Linked DNA regions of Homo sapiens: all the other regions are linked to region 3. The links are contacts of gene promoters, found by promoter capture Hi-C in blood cells and fetal thymus (Javierre and others, 2016). All regions are on one chromosome and are shown on one strand. The core of a region is centred on a gene start or on the middle of the fragment in contact, and the rest is flanking DNA. Distances in the headings are between cores, read along the strand shown. Region 1 holds the start of LOC124900690 (a long non-coding RNA gene). Region 2 overlaps SMIM20 (small integral membrane protein 20). Region 3 holds the start of STIM2 (stromal interaction molecule 2). Region 4 has its middle 27 kb from the start of LINC02357. Region 5 overlaps RBPJ (recombination signal binding protein for immunoglobulin kappa J region). Region 6 holds the start of LINC02357 (long intergenic non-protein coding RNA 2357). Region 7 overlaps LOC102723733 (a long non-coding RNA gene).

Region 1 (2,873 bases), core at 155-2,654, 590 kb before region 3:
CCATACATTGCGCAGAAAGCTGTGGTTAGATTTGTGGTGTGAAACAGGGAACTCTGCAACTCTCAAGCAAGAGTTTCCATGCCTAAGGTGAATGTTTACATTACAGACGCTGGAATCCCTGTTAATACCTTAGGTGCTTTTTTTTCATGAAGACTGTATTAAGTTTGAGATTTTCTTTCACTCCAAGTTTTTCAAAACAACAGACCATAAAAAGGAAGTTTCAACCAACAAAATTGACTTGAAATAAAAATTGGCCTGTGTGTCCCAAGTTTACTCATTTGCAGGACTACCTTTTGCTGTCTCCCACTTCCCTTCCTCTCATTGCCTCAGCCTCTTTTTTAAGTTCCTAGTCAGTTAAGGCACATTTCCTGATTTGGCAAACACCACCCCTCCACCTCCTTTTTCTTGGGTAAAACTTCCTGAGCTGACATTAAAGAGAACTGTTACCTCACCCGAGAGCTTTAGGAGGAAAATGGCATTTAGGTTTTATTACATAAAGCCCCACAGTAGTTACCACTTTATAAAATTCAAATGACTTTTTTCCAAGCTCCCAGTTTTCCAAAGCTGTCTGCCTGGCGACCTCCCAGAGGGCGAGATGCCTCCGAGGGAGCGTGGAGCGGGCCTCCCGGCCTTGGCAGGCAGCTAGGATGAAGATCTTTCCAGCTCTAGCTGCCTGGAAGGAAACTGGCAGCAGAGAGCAGTATCTATGTCCGAGGCCATTCTGGAATCTAAGAGGAGGGCACAGATTCCAATGGCTCAGGGAAGAACCACTCTGTATCCCACTTGCACCTAGGGGTACTAATCTTTCTGCAGAAGAACCTAGCAGCGGGGCCTGGGAGCTCTTTTCACTCAACTGCCTCCCTCCCCTCCTCCACTTTCAGGAAGAAGTGGGGAAGTGGGAGGTCTGTTTGCATCACTGGTAACCACAGCCATTCCCGGTGCCCCTTGCCGCCACCCTTCCAGTGCTTGGTATGCCAACGGTTCTTCCCTCTTCTTCTTTGAAGCTGAACGCAGCCAAGACACAGTCATCGCCATTTGCATCTTCCTGGGAATCCGATTAGGCCCGGCTTTACTTCTCCTGGAGGTGTCTGTGTCTTCTCTGGTGTAGAGGAAAAAAAGTTTGTTCTTCTTCCATTCCCCTGCTGCCTATGGGTCTTTGCTCAGATGTCACCTTGTCAGAGAAGTCTTTCCCAACCACAGGTGTGGCCTCAACCCCAGATATATGCTTTTCTACTTCTCTGCTTTATTGTTCTCCATAACACTTCTCACCTCCTAAAATACTTTGTACATGTGTTATATTTTACTGCTTCATTTGATTTTCTGCCTATCTTCTGCCATCTGCCCCATGCTCACACCCACACCCTGCATCCCGAGCACCCACAACAGTGCCACATACATAGTAGGCGCTCGATAAGTATTTGTTAAATAATGAATGGATTTGAGACTTTCTGAAACCCTAAGGAAGATAAGAGAAGGTATGATTTTTGATTAAGAAAAATGTTTCTGGCCAGACACGGTGGCTCACCCTTGTAATCACAGCAGTCCAAGAGGCTGAGGCAGGAGGACTGCGTGATCCCAGGAGTTCAAGACCAGCATGGGCAACACGGCAAAACCCTGTCTCTACATAAATTTTTTTAAAAATTAGCCTGGCACAGTGGCATGTGCCTATGTTCTCAGCTACTCAGGAGGCTGAATGGGAGGATCCCTTGAGCCCAGAAGTTTGAGGTGGCAGTGAGCTGTGGTCATGCCACCGCATTCCAGCCTGGGTGATAGAGCGAGCGAGACCCTGTCTCTCAAAAAAAAAGAAGAAGAAGGCTGGGCACAGTGGCTCACACCTGTAATCCCAGCTCTTCGGGAGGCTGAGGCTGGTGGATCACATGAGACCAGGAGTTCAAGACCAGCCTGCTCAACATGGCAAAACCTCGTCTATCGAAAACACAAAAATTAGCCAGGGGTGGTGGTGCACATTTGTGATCCCAGCTATTCGGAAGGCTAAAGCAGGAGAATTGCTTGAACCCAGGAGGCGGAGGTTGCAGTGAGCTGAGATCACGCCATTGCATGATCCTAGCCTGGGTGACAGAGCGAGACACCGTCTCAAAAAAACAAAAAAAGAAAAGAAAAGAAAAAAGAAAGGAAAGGAAAAAAGTTTCTAAAGTACCAGGGCTAGAGGAAGGGATTAGAAGCCATAAAGGAAGATAGCATTCATGGGATAGGGAGATGGCCACATTGTCAACTAATATTTGTAATAGACTAGTGAGATGTCATCGTCCCTATTTCATAAATGAAGCAACTGAGGCACAGAGCATTTGCATAACTTACCCAAGGTCACACAGAGGGAAAGTGAGAGACGGCATCAAGGTGTGGAACCGTGCTCTTTTCACTGCTGTCCCCTGACTTCTGCTTAGACCAAAGCCTGGTAATTTGACATCCTCAGCAGAATCAGATGCATAAGCCCCAGATTCAAATCGCAGCTCTGCCACTTGCTGGCAGGGTGACTCTAGGCAAGGTTCTGGGCTCCTATGGGTAACTGTTTTCCTAGGAAGATAATGAAAAGGGAGGACCTAGCATGCTATGAGTCTACTTATGCCTCCCAACAGGCCAGTGGGGCAGGAAGGGAACAAGTATTACTAACACCGGAAAAAGAAATTAAAACCCAGGGGGACTATGTGACTCGGGTGTGGCTAAGCAACATGTCAAGTCAGTCGCCGGAGAAAAACCATCCAGGAAAGAGGTATCTTGACATAACACAACTGTCAACTTCTCTCCAAATCATAGGTTTTTTGTTTTGTTTTGTTTTGTTTTGTTTTTTGAGACGGAGTCTCGTACTGTTGCCAGGCTGGAGTGCAGTAGCGCGATCTCGGCTCACTGCAACC
Region 2 (2,933 bases), core at 351-2,850, 940 kb before region 3:
TCTTCTTTTCTGCCTCAAGCCTTCTTTATTCTTCTCTTCCCGCTACTAGTTTGAAAGTTTTAAATTCTATTTTTGTTCTTTTATAAAGTTTAGAGTTAGTCAGTGTCTTTACCCTTGAACAATACAAGGTCCTTATAATGCCTTAACCTTTGTCCCATGCACCTGACATAATATATTTGTCCTGCCTGGTGCCTGTGACTCAGCAAATCAGTTAACACCATCACTATTGTATATGGTCACTGACTGTTTATCTTCACCCGCGTTCTTTACTCACCGACGCTGCTTACATTTCACTCCTTTCTAGCTTCAGTTTTCTCCCTTCTGACATACATCTGTTACTACTTCTTTGGTAAGAATTTGTAACTGGGAACCTCTGTTTTTGTCTATTGGAAAATGTATAGAACTGCAGGTCTTCTGCCATGGTTTTTGAAAAGTTTGTCACGCCATCCAAATTTAATCATCTCACTTGCTTAATTACAGTGCTCCAGTAACCCTTTGGTGTCTTGGAAGTCCAGCCAGTGGAGGGTTATTGAAGTATAGTCATGTGCTGTATCATATTTTGGCCCGCGATAGACCATGTATGACAGTGGTCCCATAAGATTATCATGGTGCTGAAAAATTTCTGTCGCCTAGTGATGTCCTGATGATCCTGACCCTGTGTGGGCCTAGGCTAATATATATGTTGTATCTTAGTTTCTCACACAAAAGTTTAAAAAGGAAAAAATAATAATAATTTTAAAATAGAAAGATGTCTATAGAATGAAGATATATAAAGAGAAAATATTTTTGTACAGCTGTAGATGTTTGTGTTTTAAGCTAAATGTTACTATAAGAGTCAAAAAGTTTTAAAAATTTAAAAGTTTATAAAGTAAAAAAGCTAGCTGAGGTTCATTTATTACTGAAGAAAGAAATTTTAAACAATAAATGTAGTGTAGCCTAAGTGTGCAGTGTTTATAGAGTCTGTAGTAGTGTACAGTAATGTCTTAGGCCTTCACATTCACTCACCACTCACTCACCCAGAGCAACTTCCACTCCTGCAGGATTCATTCAAGGTAAATATCCTATTTGGGTACACCATTTGGAAAATCTTTTATACAGTGTTTTTACTGTACCTTTTCAAGTTTAGCTATGTTTAGACACACAAATCTTTACCATGTGTTACAGTTGCCTGCAGTATTCAGTACAGTACCAGGCTGTACAGGTTTGTAGCCTAGGAACAATAGGCTATATCACATAGCCTGGGTGTGTAGTAGGCTACACTGTCTAGGTTTGTGCAAGTACACTCTATGATGGTTGCACAACAATGAAATCACCTAAGGACGCATTTCTCAGAATGTACTCCCACAGATGAGTGACACAGGACTGTATGTTAGTAAGAGCAGTGATCATATTCACTCTTTACAAGCATCACTCTGATTGATTGTATGTTAACTAGAAGGTGGAAAAGTCAAATCTGGGGACAGGAAGGCCAGGTACGGGAAGGCTGTGTTTCCTGTGACCTCAGGGAGACCAGAGTGGTGGCTATGGGAGTGGAGATAAGTGACTGCATTTGGGAGCCATATTTAAGAAGCAAACTGGTGGGCATGGTGGCTCAAACCTGTAATCCCAGCACTTTGGGAAGCTGACGCAGGAGGATCGCTGGAGTCCAGGAGTTCAAACCAGCCTGAGCAACATGGCGCGACCCTGTCTCATTTAAAAAAAAGAAAAGAAGTAAACTCTACAGGGGTCTGTGGCTGATTAGCCACGGGGCAAAGAAGGAGAATGGCACCCAGTGTTCTGGCTCCAGCAGCTGAGGAGATGGAGATGCTGGTCATTAGCTAGAAAACACAAGAAGGAATTGGTTTTAGGGGTGAAAAGACAAGTTAGTTTGCTTTTGGGCATTTGGGTAGCTTTTGAGGCTGAGGTAGCTGATGTGCTCTTTGAGATTTCCCATAGACAATGGAATATACCGATCTGGGGCTGAGACGCCGGATGTGAGCTGCAGCTGGAGATGGGGCATCATCAGCACGTGGCTGGGAATCAGGTCACTGCAGTAGGTAAGGGTTCCCAGGCAGCATTCAGAGATTGTAAGGGGCAAGCTGGCCCGGGGCAGTGTGCTGGGGAACACCAGTGTCAGAAGGGCTGAAGCATAGGGGGTCAGAGGAAGAGAAAGGCCCTCTAAGGAGACTGAGGAGGAGTGGCTAGACAGGTTTTAAACCAGGAGAGGCTGCAGTCACAAGCCCCATAAAGACAGCTCTTCATGAAAAGGGAGTGTGGTCAGCAGGGTTAGGCTGCTTAGAGACAGTAAAAGAGATAAGTGAAAATATGAATTATATTTAACAGAAATAAGTTAGAAGTGATTGGTTATATTGTTAAACATGCTTTCAGTGGTTTGGAAGTAGGCAGAAGGCAGGTTGCAGTGGATTGAAGTGTATTAAGTTGACTATTAATAGTGTATTAAGTTGACTATTTATAGATGTTTAGCTGTATGGAGAGGAGAATGGCAAAGTTTCCAGCAGGTCACAGGGTCTGGGAAGAGTTTTCTTTTAGTTTTGGCTGGAAGAGATGGAGGGCCAAGAAAGTCTTAGACAGAGAAAGCTGCTGGAGAGAGAAGACAGTCCGTAGAGTGGGAGGTGACATGAGATCCTGAGCTCAAGTAGAGGAAAGAGCCTTGGACCAAAGGCAAGGCACCTCTTCCACCAGCTCAGGAGGAAGGATGGTGTGGATGCTGCCATATCTAGGTTTGATGTTGGCAAGTTGTGGGCACTTCCAGGTGATGGCGTCTATTCTCTTTGTGACACAGGAAGTCAGGTCATTTATGAGTAAGAGGCACCAACTCTAGGCCATCCTCTCCTTCCTTGGAGCACTGTCTTCCCTGGGCCTCTCCACCGTGGAAGGTCCTCCTGGGTTTGCTCTTTTGCTCCTGCCTTTCAGCCACTCCTGTTAGCCTTTCT
Region 3 (3,062 bases), core at 289-2,788:
AGCACTCTGGTGTGACTTCATCGCTGTGCCTTTCAGCAGGGGAAATATAATCTCCCGGTTGCCCTATAAAGAATTGCCACCTGAACACTATGCCCACAAGAAGTCTGCTGAGAAATAACTGTTGATAGATTGACTTAGCCTCAAAGACATCCTTGATTCTTTTCTAAAGTGTGCATCTGCCCTTCCACAATAAACGATATTTGTGGTTATCTTGGCCAGGCTACCTAAGAAATACTTTAGGAGAATGTAATTTGAGTATCTTCTTGGCTTGAGAAAGCAAGCAAACAAACCAATAAGCAGAATGAAACCAACAAAACCCAATAGCAAAAGGATCTTCGTGTTTAATAACCCTATCTGCAAATTTTAAACAATTTTGTGCCCCTGGGAGAAAGAATGCCTCCTTGCGTGTGAATTTCCAGGGCTTTTAATTTATAGTGACAGTACATTCAACACTTCCTTTTAAATTTGAAGGGAGGTGGCCTTAAAAATATGCTGGCAACTAGTTTGGATGAGAAAGATTCCGGTTCTTTATTTATTCAAACCAATTAGACCAGGTCTGAACAGGATTTACAACAGAGAGCAGATCTTGGGTGCACAAGAGCTTTGCTTCATTCCAGGTTGGCGAAAACAAGTCAAGTCTACATCATTGTTCTGTCAGCCGGTTCAGGATACAGCACAGAGTCGATGGGATGGGGGTGGGAAGGTGATGAGTTCAGGTAAATGTACCTAGGAGAGTCAGAGGCTAAAGTAAATTCTCTTAAATAGGCCTTTTCAGTGGCTGCTAAATCTCGCTCATTTCCCATGAATTAGCTGTGGGATATTGGGGACAACTTACTTCACATTTCTAGGTCTTAGTCTCTTCATTCGTAAAAGGGGGTAACGATAATTTTGGAGTTATAGCATGTAAATGTGTAAAACGGTTAGAGCAATGCCTGGTACACTCACACATAGCACGCGCTTTGTGAAATGTTTGGCAAGTAAATAAAACGCTAAGCTATGCTAACCGCGTCTAAACAGCCAGCCACTTGTAAGCCCCACCTATATTGAAATTACGGGGACGCTGCTGTTTTCCGATTGCAAGATTTTCCTGATCCATGCAATTACTTTCGCTGCCCTCTACGAGGCTGAAACTCGCCCTCAGGATGTGGGACGTCTGGACTCTTCTCTCCGTCCCCTTGTAGCCCCCCACTCCCCCTCGCGGTGGTACCGTGAATGAGGGAGAGGTACACGTCCCCCTTCTTCCCCGCCTCCTATCTTCGCGGCTCGCTAAAGCGTTATCAGCCGCCCCACGGTACTACCGTCCGTCTAGGAACGCCTCCGGGGCGGGGCTGGGATGCCGCGCACGCGCAGTACAGCAGCGCCGCGCCTGCGCCGTGGAGAGCCTGAGGGAGGCGGGGGATTGGTATGCGAGCGAATGTGCGAGGGGAGGGAGGCGTCCCGGCGGAGCGTGGTACTACGACCAGCGCGGGCCGGAGGGGGCGGGGGGATGCGCCGCGGCGGCGGCGGCGCGGGAGCTGGGGTTGGTGTTTGGCGGCGCCAGAGCAGCGGATCCCGGTCTCGCCGCAGCAGCAGCGCGGGTGTCGTGCACCGCCTGAAGACGCCGTACCTTTCTACCCCCCACCTTTTTTTTTTTTTTTTTTAAATAACCGGAACCAATGAACGCAGCCGGGATCAGAGCTCCGGAGGCCGCCGGTGCCGATGGGACCAGGCTGGCGCCCGGCGGGAGCCCGTGTCTGAGGCGGCGGGGGCGGCCGGAGGAGTCGCCGGCGGCGGTGGTGGCGCCTCGCGGAGCCGGCGAGCTGCAGGCGGCCGGGGCGCCGCTGCGCTTTCACCCGGCTTCTCCTCGGCGCCTTCATCCCGCCTCGACTCCTGGCCCAGCGTGGGGCTGGCTGCTGCGGCGGCGGCGCTGGGCTGCGTTGCTGGTGCTCGGGCTGCTGGTAGCCGGAGCGGCGGACGGATGCGAGCTTGTGCCCCGGCACCTCCGCGGGCGGCGGGCGACTGGCTCTGCCGCAACTGCCGCCTCCTCTCCCGCCGCGGCGGCCGGCGATAGCCCGGCGCTCATGACAGGTGAGGGGCCGGGGGGCGGCGGGCGGGGCTCGGCCGGCAGCGATGGGACCCCCAACCCGTGCAGAGGTCAGCATCTCCGCCGGACGTCCGCTATTCCGCGGCTCCGGCCAGGGCGCGATGCGGAGCCCTGCCTGCTGCTTCGTCGCGGTCCCCTGCACTCCGGACGTCTTTCCTTTTCACCCCGACACCCCGCCCTCGCCGAGCCTCTCGACGGCACTGATTCCCCTCCCTTCAGTCGGGCTCTCCGATCTTCCAAGCTGAGCAATGCGGTGGTTTCTCTTTCGTGCTGCAGAAGTGCCAGCAGGGTCTGCAGGGGACTGGGCTGATTTTTTTTTTTTTTTTTTTTTTGAGGCTGCTAGAAAAAGTCAGCAGCAGCATTGCGGTATTGAGTCTACCTCTGGTGCTGCTTTTGCAAAGGCAGCTGGCAGCGAGTCTCACCGGTTCAAAGCTCCGCTTGAGCACAGCGTCCCAGGGGAGCCTGCTAAAGGGGATTCTTTGAGAGCCATAATACCTAGTGATATTAGTGGTTCCGTGTTAGTATGCAGAAATGCCTAAGTTTACAGTGCATTTTTTGCGGGGTGGAAGGAGGCCGTTTTAAGTGGTGATGGAAAGTGTTTGGTGGTGGGAGCATCACTGGGTGACAAAGGGTGTAGAAACCTCAGCAGGTAACCAGAAATTATACCTAAAATTTGCAAAGTGCAGCATACTCGGGGCTTGCAGCTGGCAGCACAGTTCTGATAGACTGCACTAGCACCTTTTTTTTAATATATAGAACGATCTCATAATTGAAAACTTGGAAACGTGTTTTGTAAGGTTAAGTGCAGAATTGTATCCTTTTTAAAGCCTTCCGGTGTTATGTACAACTGATCAGTTGTGGTTTAAGTAAAAGTTATTATATAAGGACCCTGAAATGATTTCTTTGGGAAAAGTAATGGAGCTAAAATAATGGTTTTTTTTTTTTTTTTTAGTATTTCACTTATTTTTAAAGTAGATCT
Region 4 (2,923 bases), core at 392-2,891, 820 kb before region 3:
AGCTACTTCTTGTTGTTGCCCGATACTTTTATAAAACAGCTTCAATGAGGTATACTTACCATGCAATGAACTGCACAACTTTAAAATGTTCCATTTGGTCAGTTTTGACCTATGCATATACCTGTTAAACAATTATCACAATCATAATAAACATATCCAACATTCTTAAAAGCTTCTTCTCGTCTTTTTGCAATCTTTCCCTCTCATTCCTCCCCTAAAAACAGTAGTACTGATCACATTGGGTTGTTGTGAGAATTTAAATAAGATTCAAGCATAGAGAGAGCCATGTTATATACACACTTTGTTTTCTGTCTTTAGGTGGGGGAAGCCATTGTCTAGTGAAAAAGACCTGAATTCCGTGCCCAGATCACTGCTTACTCTTGGTACAGGGCTGGAGTGGAGTTGAGGATTGCATAAGTGTTGCAAGCAAAGAGAATGTGCTAATAAATGCATATTGAATGAACAAATGAACAAATCCACCAGATCTATGTGCTCAAAAATCTAACTTAGAGACAAGAACAAGTAAAATAAATTGATACAAATAAGAGGCATTATATAATCATGTGGCACTACATACATGTACATATTATTAAATAGGTCTCAAATTGATATTGTTTTCTTTCCCACAAAACACATTCTTCTTCCTGAAGATCCTTATTTGTGGCTGGTGTCCATTTAGCCACCCAAACCAAATCACCCATCCTCAATTTCCCATTCACCCTCAACTAATCTGGCTCAAGTCGATAGGCACACAGTCCTGTTTATTTGACTTCATCTCTTGGTTTTTGTTTTTGTTTCTTTTTTTGTTTTTTGTTTTTTTGAGATAGGGTCTCCCTTTGTCACCCAAGCTGGAGTGCAGTGGTGTAATCTGGACTCACTGCAGCCTCCACCTCTCCAGCTCAAGTGATCCTCCCACCTCAGCCTCCTGAGTAGCTGGGACCACAGGTGCACACCACCACACCTGACTAGGTTTTGTCTTTTTTGTCGAGACAGGGTTTTGCCAAGTTTCCCAGGCTGGTCTCGAACTCCTGGACTAAAGAGATCCTCCTGCCTCAGCCTCCCAAAGTGTTGGGATTACAGGCGTGAGCCACCGTGCCTGGCTTTTGACTTCATTTCTTGATGCTTCTATGTCCTCTTCATCTCCACGGCAGTTCCAGCTCCCATTACATCTCACAGCACTGAAGCTGGCCTCCACCTCCGGCCTTTCTACTCTGCAGGATAAGTCTTTCCTAAAAATCCTGGTCCTTCCCCACTTCTCCAATAACTCTTTATTACCCCCCTCCAAGGCAAAGCGCCACCTCCCCAAGTACAAAATATTTTATTACCTGGACTAAATCTACCTTGTCAGTCTCTCACCCACACTTGAAGTCTTAGCCAGGCCTATGAATTCACCTTTTCCTCAATATACCACAATTGTTCCTCTCCCCACATCTTTTTTCTTGTTAATTTTAAAAAATTGTAATAAAATATACATTTCATAAAATATATCATTTTAACCATTTTTACGTAGACAGCTCAGTGATATTAAGTACATTCACACTGTTGTGCAACCATTCCCACCATCCATCTCCGGAACTTTTTCATCTTCCCCAACTGAAATCTTATGCCCATCAAACAAAAGCATTCTCCCTTCTCTCAAGCCCCTGGAAACCATTCTACTTTCTGTCTCTATGAATTTTACTACTCCAGATAATCCATATAAGTGGAAGCATACACTATTTGTTTTTTTGTGTCTGGCTTATTTCACATAAGGTCTTTGAGATTCATCCATATTTAACATGTGTCAGATTTCATTCACTTTTATGGCTGAATAATATTCCGTTGTAGGCATGGCCCATATTTTGTTTATCCAGTCAGCCATCGATGAAAAGTTGGGTTGTTTCCATCTTTTCACCCTTATGAATAATCCTGCTATGAACATTGGTGTACAAACCCTGTTCAAATCTCTGCTTTCTTTCCCCTGGAACCTTTATTGCATGTTCCTTCTGGCTAGAGAGTCAGCCTGGAGGCATCTTCCACCCCTCTTTCTGAAGAACTCCTATTCATTAAACAAAAACAAACAAACAAACAAACAAAAAACACCTCATCTCTCAAAAGTCCATTTTCTAATTTAATCAAAGACAGGTAGCCTTGACTTCCTCTGCATCTTCCTAGCCTTACATACTATGCCCTCTTATGGTCCTTATTTCACTGAATCACAATCACTTGTGCCATTGCCTTCCTCCCTTGCTAAACTGTACTTTAGTGAAAAGGGAGCTTACCTTGTAATCTTTCTCCTCCAGATATCATGCCTAGGCCACTGTCAGAACTTCATAAATATGTGAGAAGAAATAGTTTAAGGACTACCTCTGGGTTCTTCAGTCCCAACCTCTCTAGGGACTCAAGGAATATTATCAACTAATGCTGATTTTTATTGTTTGTTGGCTCCAGGATAAAGATCTAGCACAGATTTCTGACCTTCGAAGTATTTTCTGGCTGCCACAGGGTCTTATTTCCCTGGAGGTCACTGAGGAGATGAATCACCATGGTTAGACCCTCTGAAATGCAACTTCTTTGAATCCTATTACTCATCTACCTACACAGCCCTGGTGGGAAGGCTCGAGCCAGCTGAGCTTTCATTTACACCTTCAGCCAGGCAGACTGAAACCTTTCTAATCATGCCAAAGTGGAGGACCAGGGGAGCAGAGTGAACATGAGTTGAAATGAGCTCTCAACTTCAGAATTAAAAAGCATTTTCTCAGCCTTTCTAAGGACCATGTTGCTAAAGGTACAGACTTTAATAGTTATAAGAAAGCCATTGAGAAACCTAAAAGACAGGTCTTGGCTCCCCATCCACTCCCCTCTTTCCCATTTTCTTGGCTCTGCTCCTTCCCTGCCAGCTCCATCTTTCTTTCCTGAGTATCCTAGTGTGTGGCCTTGGCCT
Region 5 (2,999 bases), core at 102-2,601, 540 kb before region 3:
GCGGGTTCGGGGGCCGCGGCGCGCTTGGCGTTCGGGGGCCCGCGGGGGCGGCGTCGCGTGCGCCGAGCGCGGCGGCGGCGGCGTGTGGCCGTGCGCTGCCGCTCTGCGCTGCCGTGGCTCAGGCTCCAGCGCGTGAGGGCGGGCGGCGGCGGCGGCGGCGAGGCCGGCGGGTGCGGGCGTGAGTGCGGCAGGGCGCGCGGGGCCCTCGGGCGCCGTGCCTCCCGCGCGCCTCCAGCGGGCTCTGCCTGGGGGCCCCGTGCATCTTTGTTCCTCGCGGCCGTTGTCGCCGCTTCGCCCCGCTAGTGCCCCCGGCCCCGGGCGCTTTGTCTTTCACCGCTACCCGCTGCGACTCTCTACCCCCGGCCCTTTGTTTCGCCGCCTTGGGCGCTTTGTCCGACCCGTGGCGTCCCGCATCCCCTCTCCATCTCCTCCCCTCCGCTGTCCTTCCTCCCGTGCCCCTTTGTTGTGCCACACTCTTGTCGTTAGCCCAGTGACCTGCCACAGCCCGGGCACCAGATTTCTGCCTTAATTGTTCTTCCATTGTCTTTCTCCTGTGGGTCCCCTCTCACCTTTCTGTATGGTCCTGGATCACCCCCCGAGGCTTTGTCTCCCCCATCCACGGGCTTATTCTCTCGGCACCCCCTTCCTCTCCCGTCATCGGTTGATTTATCCACAACCCACGGTGTACGTCTGCTGAACTGTCTCAGCCCCGGGGACTCCATCTGCTGCTTCTAAGTGCACACAAGACTCTACGGTTTGTTGTTTTGTGGGTCTGAAAGATGCATGGGATACTTAGTTTTCTCCTCCGCACCTCTTTTTCTCGGGATTTCTTGTACCCTCCCGCCCCCCTATCGCCACCCCTTTCTCTCGGGATTAAAGCGTCTCCAATTTTCATCGCCGTCTTTTTAGTGCCGTGGGTTGTTTTGCTTGGAAACAGTAGCCTTGGAAAAAGATCTGGTCTCTTGGTGGTTCTTGCGCCCCCCGGCCCCCGCCCCCCTCCTGGTTCCTGACGGCGTAGGCCAAGGGCAGCTGTCTGTCGAAGCTTTGCAATCTAGGCTGCCTGAGGATGATTGGAGGGTATCGTAGGACGGTTAGAAGGAGGCTCAAGATGTATATATGTGTTTTTCTGTTAGTGTTTGAGAATAGTTTCAGATAGCCACAATGGATATTCATTTGGCGTGTGAGTAGGAGTTGAGTGAATTTCCATGTTAAAAACTTGTGAGTGTTGGGGCGGAGAATTTCAGCATTTTCTAGAAATCTGGATTTAGAATTTATCAGTAACTTCTGCCTCATAAGGAAAAGGAGAGGCATTCCGCTTGGGAATTTTATATAAATGTTTTATTTTTTCTTAATCATTAGATAGTTTACAGTTATGTGCTTTTTGCTGCCCTGTAGATGCGTGACAACCCTTCTGTCCCATCATTGGGGTTGAAATGAGGACAGCACCGAAGAGTGCAGTTTCTGGTCGATGAATACTGCTTCTAAGATCTTTGTGGAAGATATTAATCAAATGCAGTTAAAAAGTATACGTATAATATGTATATTATATATATATATACACACACACACGTAATAGCCTGTAGTGAGATTATTTTAAAGACACTTCCTAGTGTTAAAGAACCCTTGAAGTGTTTCGAGTTCTTATTGTTTTGGTAATGCTAAAAGCTTGGGGTTGTGTGAATGGGGGTGGGGGGTGTGGTGTGATGTATTCTAATGACTTGAGTTATTCTGGGTGCTAGGAATAAGAGTTATTATATTTACCAGGATTACTATGCTGAAGGTATTCTTCAAGAGTTTGTTTTTTTTCTACTGGTTGATCTCTACTTTTAGAAGGTATGTTACCCATAAAATCATTTGGAGTGTCATTTCATTTACAAACTGAAGTTCTACAATAGTGAAGTGTTGTTGATAGGGGACATACGAGATCTACTCTAACGAGTATTGGAGCATTGGAAAATACTTTTTTTTCTGGCTGTGATTAGAATTAGTAGTTTGAGTTTTAATTAATGGAAAACCATGTTTTCATGATTGATACATAAGTTTTTTTGTGAAAATCTGCAGTCTGGGTCGCTTGAGTGGGTTTTACCAATAATCTTATGTCTCCCTTACTTGTTCTTGTACATAATCATTGTTTTGAAGGTAAAATCTTGAGCTCACTGGTTCTCTGACTGGGAGCAAAGTGTAAATACTGTGTAGTAATGGAAGGTATTTTGCTCTGACTTGTACCTGTAAGAATGATTACACAGACATGATAAAAGCGCTTTTACCATTTGAGTTGCGTTTTTCTTTCTAAATCGTGTAATACTTTTACTTACATGATTGGTGAAATAAAACTGCTTTTAATTAAATTATAACAGCAGCATATTTCGAAATCTGGATGCGTTGTGGCTGGAGAACTTTCATTCTGAGTATTAACTGTTAAAGCTTTAAATTTTATTATCCATGCATATTGCTGATGGATCTGTGAGTATATTTTCAGAAAACAGGAGACTTGCAATATTTTCAAATCTGTACTAATACACACTTGTAGGCATTAGATTTTAAGCAGTTAGGTTTGTTAAAAAGTTATCTGTTGTCCTATACCAACAGATTTCTATCAATGTTTTTTTTAAGTGGGTAAGATCAAAATTGGTTTGGTTGACAGGCCATTCTTGCCAGATGTAATTCATTAAATAACCTTTGGCACCCTTGATGGGTAAGGCATTAGGAAAAAATTGTTTCGTTTGAAAGTTATTATACATCTCATTCTTCTGTTCATTTTTAGAAATAAGACCCAGGACTTGGCTTTAAAGCATTATTTTGCATTTTGCTTCCTCCTAATACTAAATTTCATGTTATCTCAACTAGGGGCAGTATTTTCTCATGGATTGACTAAAAGTTGTTATTTTTGGCATCTGGCTTTGTGATTATTTCCAAGTTACTCTACTTCCCCTGGGCCAGTTTCCTAACTATGTAGTAAAATGGGAATTATAATAACTTGCCACATCTGCACAGGATTG
Region 6 (3,209 bases), core at 380-2,879, 790 kb before region 3:
AAGGGGAAAGGAGGCTGAAAGTTCAAGAGGGGTGGTCTAAGACAGACCCACACAGACATCTTTTCCCTGGGATCAGTCTGCTATCTCTTCACCAGGCCATTAGTTCTCAGCCTTTCTCCTGTTGAACATAGAAGGCACATGACCTTTGCCAGCAGGACCCATGTCTTTGATACACCCAGGGTCATACACACTCCCTGGAGCCACCAGTACTTGCAACTGAGAGTGACATTCACAGAGGGATGACCATGAACTCACTTTAATTTACAAAATAAGTAATTCACACAAAACCATTGATGTCTTCTCCATTGTTAGAAGTAGACTATAGGCTTGGAAGTCAGACAATCTCAGATTCCCATTCTGACCCCCTCACTTATAGGCTGTGTGGCGCTGGGTGAGTTACTTACCCTCTTTGAGTCTTAGCATTCTCATCTGCAGAATGGGTATGATAATAGAACTCCTATGCTGGAGGGTCCGTTAGGATTGGATCTGATTATGCAAACTAAATGCTTGGCAATGTGCCTGCTAATGGTAAATACTCAGTAGGTGATAACTGCCTTATTATGAATATTTTCTTATTCTTGTCATTAGCAATATGCCTCACGGCCGATGGGAGCACACCTGTGGGTAATAACACCGTGGCTGCCTCTTAGCCTATTAGAGAAAGGAAAACCATTTACTCCTAATTGGTTCACCTTTGTCCTTGAAAGTCATCATGCTGTGTTTTTTTTTTTTTTTAAAACATGCTGTAATTGAAAATTCAGTCTAATTCACCCAGCCCTCCCCTCCGTTCCCAATCAGTGGGACTTTTGCTGGATAGGGAACTGGGTTGTTCATAGGTTCTAAGCCAAAACCCAGCTTTAATTTCCTATTATAGGCCTGTCCTTTTTAAGATATGCTGGATGAAAACAACATCAGTGGTGGGGCAGAAGGAGCTAGGAATGGCCTCCTGTGCATTGACAGGGGAAGTATTCAGTCCCGTAACAATCTTTCAGCAGCCCACATACCTGGGCTCCATGTGGCTTGTACTCTCTGCCTCTCCAAGAAGCTGTTTCTCTTCACCACCCGTAGGGGGCAGAAATACCTTGATTAGGGCCCCCTCTAACAGTGTTTCCATCTGAATAAATGGGAATGCTGCCCGCTCAACCCTACAAGAATTTAATTAGTTTGGTTGTTGGCAGGTCCCCCAAAGATGAAAAGAGCAAGAGATTCCACTGTCTCATCCAAGCCAGTGTCCTCTCCGGCCCAGACCCAGTCAAGAGCCCCCTAACTAGTCCTGCTAAGTAAGCCCACTCTGACCCCGCCAGCACATTCTATGATAGAGAGATCCATTTAAAAATGCAATCTCATTCCATCACTTCCCTTGTCAAGCATTCTCAATCGCTTTCTCAATCAATGCTAGGACTCAGATTTTAGCCCCCAGGGCCCACGTCTGGCTTCTGCTGGCTCGTCCAGCCTCATCCAGGCCCTTTCTGCCTTTCTGTGCCCAGTCACACCAGGGCTTAGGCAGTCCTTTGAGTGTGGGGAGCTCCTGCCCACCTCTGCCTAGCTGGCATCTTTGCTGGGAGACCATATCTTCCTTCCCCACCTCCCACCTGTACTCAACTTTGCTCCTATGTTCTCAAGGTTTCTTATTTTTCTCCCCTGTGGGCTTACCCCTGCCTCCCCCAGTGGGATATCAGCTCCATGAGGGCAAGAACTGTGTTTTATTTACCTCTTCATTCCCAGTACTGACCACGGTGCCTGAGCGGCATGTAATAGAGAGTTGACAAACTTTTTAAAAATGACAATCTTTTTTTTTTTTTTTTTTTTTGAGACAGAGTTTCGCTCTTGTTGCCCAGGCTAGAGTGCAATGGCATGATCTCGGCTCACCACAACTTCCGCCTCCTGGGTTCAAGCAATTCTCCTGCCTCAGCCTTCCGAGTAGCTGGGATTACAGGCATGCACTACCACGCCCGGCTAATTTTGTATTTTAGTAGAGACTGGGATTCCTCCATGTTGGTCAGGCTGGTCTCGAACTCCCGACCTCAGGTGATCCGCCCGCCTTAGCCAAAATGCTGGGATTACAAGTGTGAGCCACCACACCCAGCCTCAAAAATGGCAATCTTTTATTATATTGGAATTGCACATGAAGAGCTCTGTTTTTGCCAAGGGAGATGGAGTGGAAGTTGGTTTATCCATTTGATTGCTGTAGACTCAATTATTCAAAGGGCAAATGCAGATCTGCCTATTCCTTCAGAATATTATGCTGTCAGGAGTTATTTCCCTTAATCTTAATGTTCCCTTTATGTCCTTCAAACTCCTTCTCAATTAGAAGATGCTGTTTATTACTTCCTTATCCATGAAGCCTCAGGCTTCTTTGGTGGTTATTATGTCACAGAGAGGAATCTTGTCAAAATCAAATGGAATGGAGGCAATCGGGGGAAAACGATTTTATTTTTCATCTGATTACCATCATTTTCTCTCTCTCTCTCGGGTCTAAGAGTGGGATGGATGTAGGAAGAGGAAGGAGTTGTCCTAATATGGGTTACTGAAATGTTATTGGCCCATGTTAAATACAGAAATGGAGGGTTTAGAAATGTTTAAGGTGATTTTACTTTGCCACAGTGTCCAAGCACCTGATCAATGATCCTGTCTTGATGAAGAGGGCAGTGGTGAGCATTTGGGGTGCTGTTGAATTTGTGTGGTGGCTCACACACACTAGGACCACATATCCTCCCTCAAAATTTTGGAAATTTTAAAAAACTCATCCTTAACTGCAGAGAGTTTATAAAATATGTTGTCAAAGATAACATAGCCCTAGTCACATGGTAAGGAAAAGCCAACATTCAAGAAATGCTTGGAAACTGAGAAATGTTAAAGGCAGGAGTACAAAGGAGGTGAAGAGAATGGTCACTGTAGGTTGAGGTGAAACAGGAAGTCGATCCTTGGAGATGAATCCTCAGAGGGTCTTGAAAAAAAAAGTTGGCAAATATTAAGGGGTAGAAGGATGTTTCAAGAGAGAGGAAGCCGTGAGCGAAGGCATGGAGGCCTATGCAGAAGATGTGAAGGCCATGCACATTATTTGCTGATTGAAATAGAAAGGTCAAGAGTCTGGGTTCTACCATTTGGCAACCGTCCTAATGATAATTGATTCAAGTAAGAACACTAATGGATGCTAAGGAGTGGGCAAGTTTGAGAAATAACAGACTATTTAGATAGTCTCAAAGTAT
Region 7 (2,939 bases), core at 318-2,817, 960 kb before region 3:
AAGATAAATGAGGCTTAAAAAACATCAGGTTTCTAGAAAAGTACTCAGTGTAATTTCTGCAAAAATAAAAACAGAAGCTATATCTTATAGACAAGAGCTTGCTGCTCCAATTTTTAAAAATGCCTCACTGCCTTTATGGTCCTTACACCTACATCAATTATTACAAGAGATGAGGAAGGCTGGCGGGAGTCACGTGGACTGAGAGGGCCTATCATTATGTCAGCTGATAACACTGGGATGTCCCTGCAAGGAAGACCGGAACATGGCCAAGTGAGGTAACTCTTTATGGATATACCTAGGTCCCACTATGTACAAGTGGGGTAAAGTGGGAGTGAAAGCGAGTTTAGGGGCAGGAATGCCAATGTGCAAGGGGCCCTTCCATTGAGAAGAACCCTGTTTAAATCCACTTAGGTTCATGTCACAGTAGTTTTTTCTTTTTTCGCTTGTTAGTTTTATACTCTGATTTTATGAAAAATACCCCACAACTCAGGTTTAATTTCCCTGGGGGAGATAGCTTTGAAATAACTATTAAACCTCTTTTTCCCTCTTTTTGCTACACTAAGCAAACTGGGAAATATTTTCCCTGAGGACAATAGCCCAGTCATTCATGCAGTAATCATTTTAATGCTATTTGTTTCTTCTTCCTTTTTTTAAAAAAAACTTTCCAACAGTGTTTGCATATAGCCCTCCCAATTTTATATTTCTACATTTTCTTTTTTATGAGTAAGACAGATGACATATTCATGTGTAGGATTCTGTGAGAAATTCAACTTAATTTCATGGCCAGGGGTAAATGTGAATGACTCATTGATGAAATTAGTAAGCCCTTTGCACAGCAATTGAAAATTTATCTATCTGGCACATTCATTTCATTGTCACACAACCACAAGAGGCATTATCCTCAATTTATAGATGAGGAAACTGAGTCTCAGAGAGATGAAATCTTGTTAAGGTGCCGCAAGTAGATTTGAACCCAAATAACCTGACCCAAACAAAAACAATCAACATTTCCTGTTTAAACCCCTTGCGTGCCGTGTGCTATTTAATCTCAAAAAAAATCTGTGAGCTAGGTTATGATTATCATCTTTATTTTACAGATAAAATTGAGGTTTTCAGGATTAAATAAATTGATGATTCAAACCCAGATCTGCCTTATTGCAAAGCTTTGTCCAAACACAGAACTTTTCCCGAAGCCTCAGTTAGCTCTGAAAACTCCAAATCTGGTGGAGGTAAGAAGTGAGGGCTGGATCCGAGGCCACAGAAAGGAGAGCAGGCAGATCGAGCCCCCTGCTTGGGCTGAGAAGCCTTCGCCTGCCAAGCCAGCTCTGTGGATGAACTATTTGCAGGCCATGTTCATTCAAAAGAGCTGAGGCAGCCTGGATGGAAGCCCAAATGCCAAGATAAAGGTGCCCGACTGACAAAATGCCAGTGTGAGCTGTTGCCTGCTGGCTTCACCCGCTGAAAACTTGGGGACCCCCATGTTCACAAAGGCACTGCAGACAGAAAGAAATGTCTGGTAAGCAGAGAGGTCTCCGCAAGCCCAATTATCCACTCTAGCCCATAATCGTGATTGTGGTGCATACCCAGCCCTACCACGTCGGGGGTGGCCCCATGCAGACATGGAGGCGCCAGCTGGTGCACCGCCAATTCTTCATCAGCAACGAAGGGCAGCCCTGACATCTCTCATCTGCCCCAAGCACCCTCCTTTAACCTCCTTTACATGACAAAATTTCCACTTACAAGTTAATCAAAACCCTGACCATGAATGAGAAAGAAAAAAAAATACTCCGTTAATTAAAAATCTCAAAAGATGCCAATGGTAACAGTCTGCAGATGCCTTCTTCCTCTGCTAATCCTACAGGAAAACCAGACATCAGTGATCAGTTTAAGAATCACAGGTGCTGTGATTAGGCCTGAGAGCATTTAGCTGTGACAAGTGGAATGAGAAAGATTTTTAATCTTCCTGAAATCCCAAGCTTTGAAAGTAATTAAATAATTAATGAGAAGCAGGGCTTCCCCTTCCTTCCCAAGAGAAGTTAAGTTCCCAAGTTTCTTCCCTGTGCAATACTGTCTCTTAAATGCATAGACGAAGTATCTCCAGTCATTCAACAAATATTTATTGAGCACCTACTCTGTGTCAAGTCCTCTGGAAGGTGGTGGACACACCGCAGGGAGGTTGACAAAGTTCCTGCACTTACCTTCTAGAATGAGGGACAACAATTAACATGTAAATGGGTAGTTTGAGGGTGTTGGAATAAAAAGCAAGATGCATACAGCGTGAAAAGGGGGAGGACCCCTTTAGACCATGTGGTCAGGTACAGCCCTATGAGGTAGTAGTACCACTTGAAGAGATACTTAAATGACAAGTGTCTTTGTCTTCTCTTGCTTATAACTGAATACCTGAAACTGGGAAATTTGTAAAGAAAAATACTTCTTATGGTTATGAAGGCTGAGAATTCCAAGGTCAAGGGGCTGCACCTAGGGTCTCTGCAGTTTCAAGGCAGCTCAGGGTATCGCGTGGCAAGGTTGCCGTGTGTGCTAGCTCAGCTGTCTTCCTTTTCTTGCAAGGCCACTAGTCCCACTCCCGTGATAACCCATTAACTCATGAATAGATTAATCCACGCATGATCCAATCACCTCTGAAAAGCCCCACCTCTCAATACTGCAACATTGGGGATTAGGTTTCAACATGAGTTTTGGAGAGGACAAATATTCAAGCCATAGCAACAAGTAAAGCCAGGCCAAGAGCACAGAGCATTTCAGGCAGAGGAAACTGTAAGTACAAAGTCCCATAGGCTAGATCAGACCGGATGTGCTCAAGAACAAGCATAATACTTGTGTGAGGTAGAAGAGGTCAGCAGGGACAAGTCCCCTAGAACCTTCTAGGACATAGTAAAATGTCTGGATGTTATTCTAAGCGATCGAAAAGGCTTCATTAC

What was found. Contacts are between HindIII fragments. The CHiCAGO score rates a contact against its expected background, and 5 or more counts as called.
Region 1: a fragment that was not itself captured here is called in contact with the fragment with the promoter of STIM2 in region 3 in 1 of 17 cell types (neutrophils); the score reaches 6.2 in neutrophils.
Region 2: a fragment that was not itself captured here is called in contact with the fragment with the promoter of STIM2 in region 3 in 1 of 17 cell types (naive CD4 T cells); the score reaches 5.1 in naive CD4 T cells.
Region 4: a contact is called between a fragment that was not itself captured here and the fragment with the promoter of STIM2 in region 3, in 1 of 17 cell types (M0 macrophages). The highest score is 5.5, in M0 macrophages.
Region 5: a contact is called between a fragment that was not itself captured here and the fragment with the promoter of STIM2 in region 3, in 4 of 17 cell types (fetal thymus, naive CD4 T cells, naive CD8 T cells and 1 more). The highest score is 18.3, in fetal thymus.
Region 6: a contact is called between a fragment that was not itself captured here and the fragment with the promoter of STIM2 in region 3, in 1 of 17 cell types (monocytes). The highest score is 5.6, in monocytes.
Region 7: a contact is called between a fragment that was not itself captured here and the fragment with the promoter of STIM2 in region 3, in 1 of 17 cell types (total B cells). The highest score is 5.4, in total B cells.

The regions. Positions count from the first base shown.
Region 1 is chr4:26,272,841-26,275,713 of GRCh38, forward strand. It overlaps LOC124900690 (a long non-coding RNA gene), which reads right to left and starts at 2,585. Exons shown (of 4, transcript XR_007058094.1): 1 at 2,320-2,585. It also overlaps a transcript of RBPJ not described here. The HindIII fragment of the contact is 4,295 bases long and covers 1-2,873 here.
Region 2 is chr4:25,919,677-25,922,609 of GRCh38, forward strand. The region is part of intron 1 of SMIM20 (small integral membrane protein 20); the gene reads left to right. Among named protein-coding and RNA genes, the nearest start is that of SMIM20, 6.9 kb to the left of the region's middle. The HindIII fragment of the contact is 5,874 bases long and covers 1-2,933 here.
Region 3 is chr4:26,859,303-26,862,364 of GRCh38, forward strand. STIM2 (stromal interaction molecule 2) reads left to right here and starts at 1,539. Exons shown (of 12, transcript NM_020860.4): 1 at 1,539-2,067. The coding sequence starts at 1,917. It overlaps STIM2-AS1 (STIM2 antisense RNA 1), which reads right to left and starts at 1,297. Exons shown (of 2, transcript NR_134674.1): 1 at 1,208-1,297; 2 at 322-726. RefSeq lists an enhancer at 1,096-1,195 and silencers at 1,286-1,655, 1,666-2,235. The HindIII fragment of the contact is 3,345 bases long and covers 1-3,062 here.
Region 4 is chr4:26,042,144-26,045,066 of GRCh38, forward strand. No RefSeq gene overlaps it. Among named protein-coding and RNA genes, the nearest start is that of LINC02357, 27 kb to the right of the region's middle. The HindIII fragment of the contact is 2,942 bases long and covers 171-2,923 here.
Region 5 is chr4:26,321,118-26,324,116 of GRCh38, forward strand. The region is part of intron 1 of RBPJ (recombination signal binding protein for immunoglobulin kappa J region); the gene reads left to right. Among named protein-coding and RNA genes, the nearest start is that of RBPJ, 1.6 kb to the left of the region's middle. RefSeq lists silencers at 1-70, 141-240 and an enhancer at 353-1,274. The HindIII fragment of the contact is 623 bases long and covers 1,041-1,663 here.
Region 6 is chr4:26,068,338-26,071,546 of GRCh38, forward strand. LINC02357 (long intergenic non-protein coding RNA 2357) reads left to right here and starts at 2,417. Exons shown (of 3, transcript XR_925506.3): 1 at 2,417-3,209. The HindIII fragment of the contact is 9,846 bases long and covers 1-3,209 here.
Region 7 is chr4:25,899,743-25,902,681 of GRCh38, forward strand. All of the region lies in intron 1 of LOC102723733 (a long non-coding RNA gene), which reads left to right. LOC105374538 (a long non-coding RNA gene) reads right to left here. Exons shown (of 3, transcript XR_925502.3): 3 at 1,068-1,493. Among named protein-coding and RNA genes, the nearest start is that of SMIM20, 13 kb to the right of the region's middle. The HindIII fragment of the contact is 813 bases long and covers 1,162-1,974 here.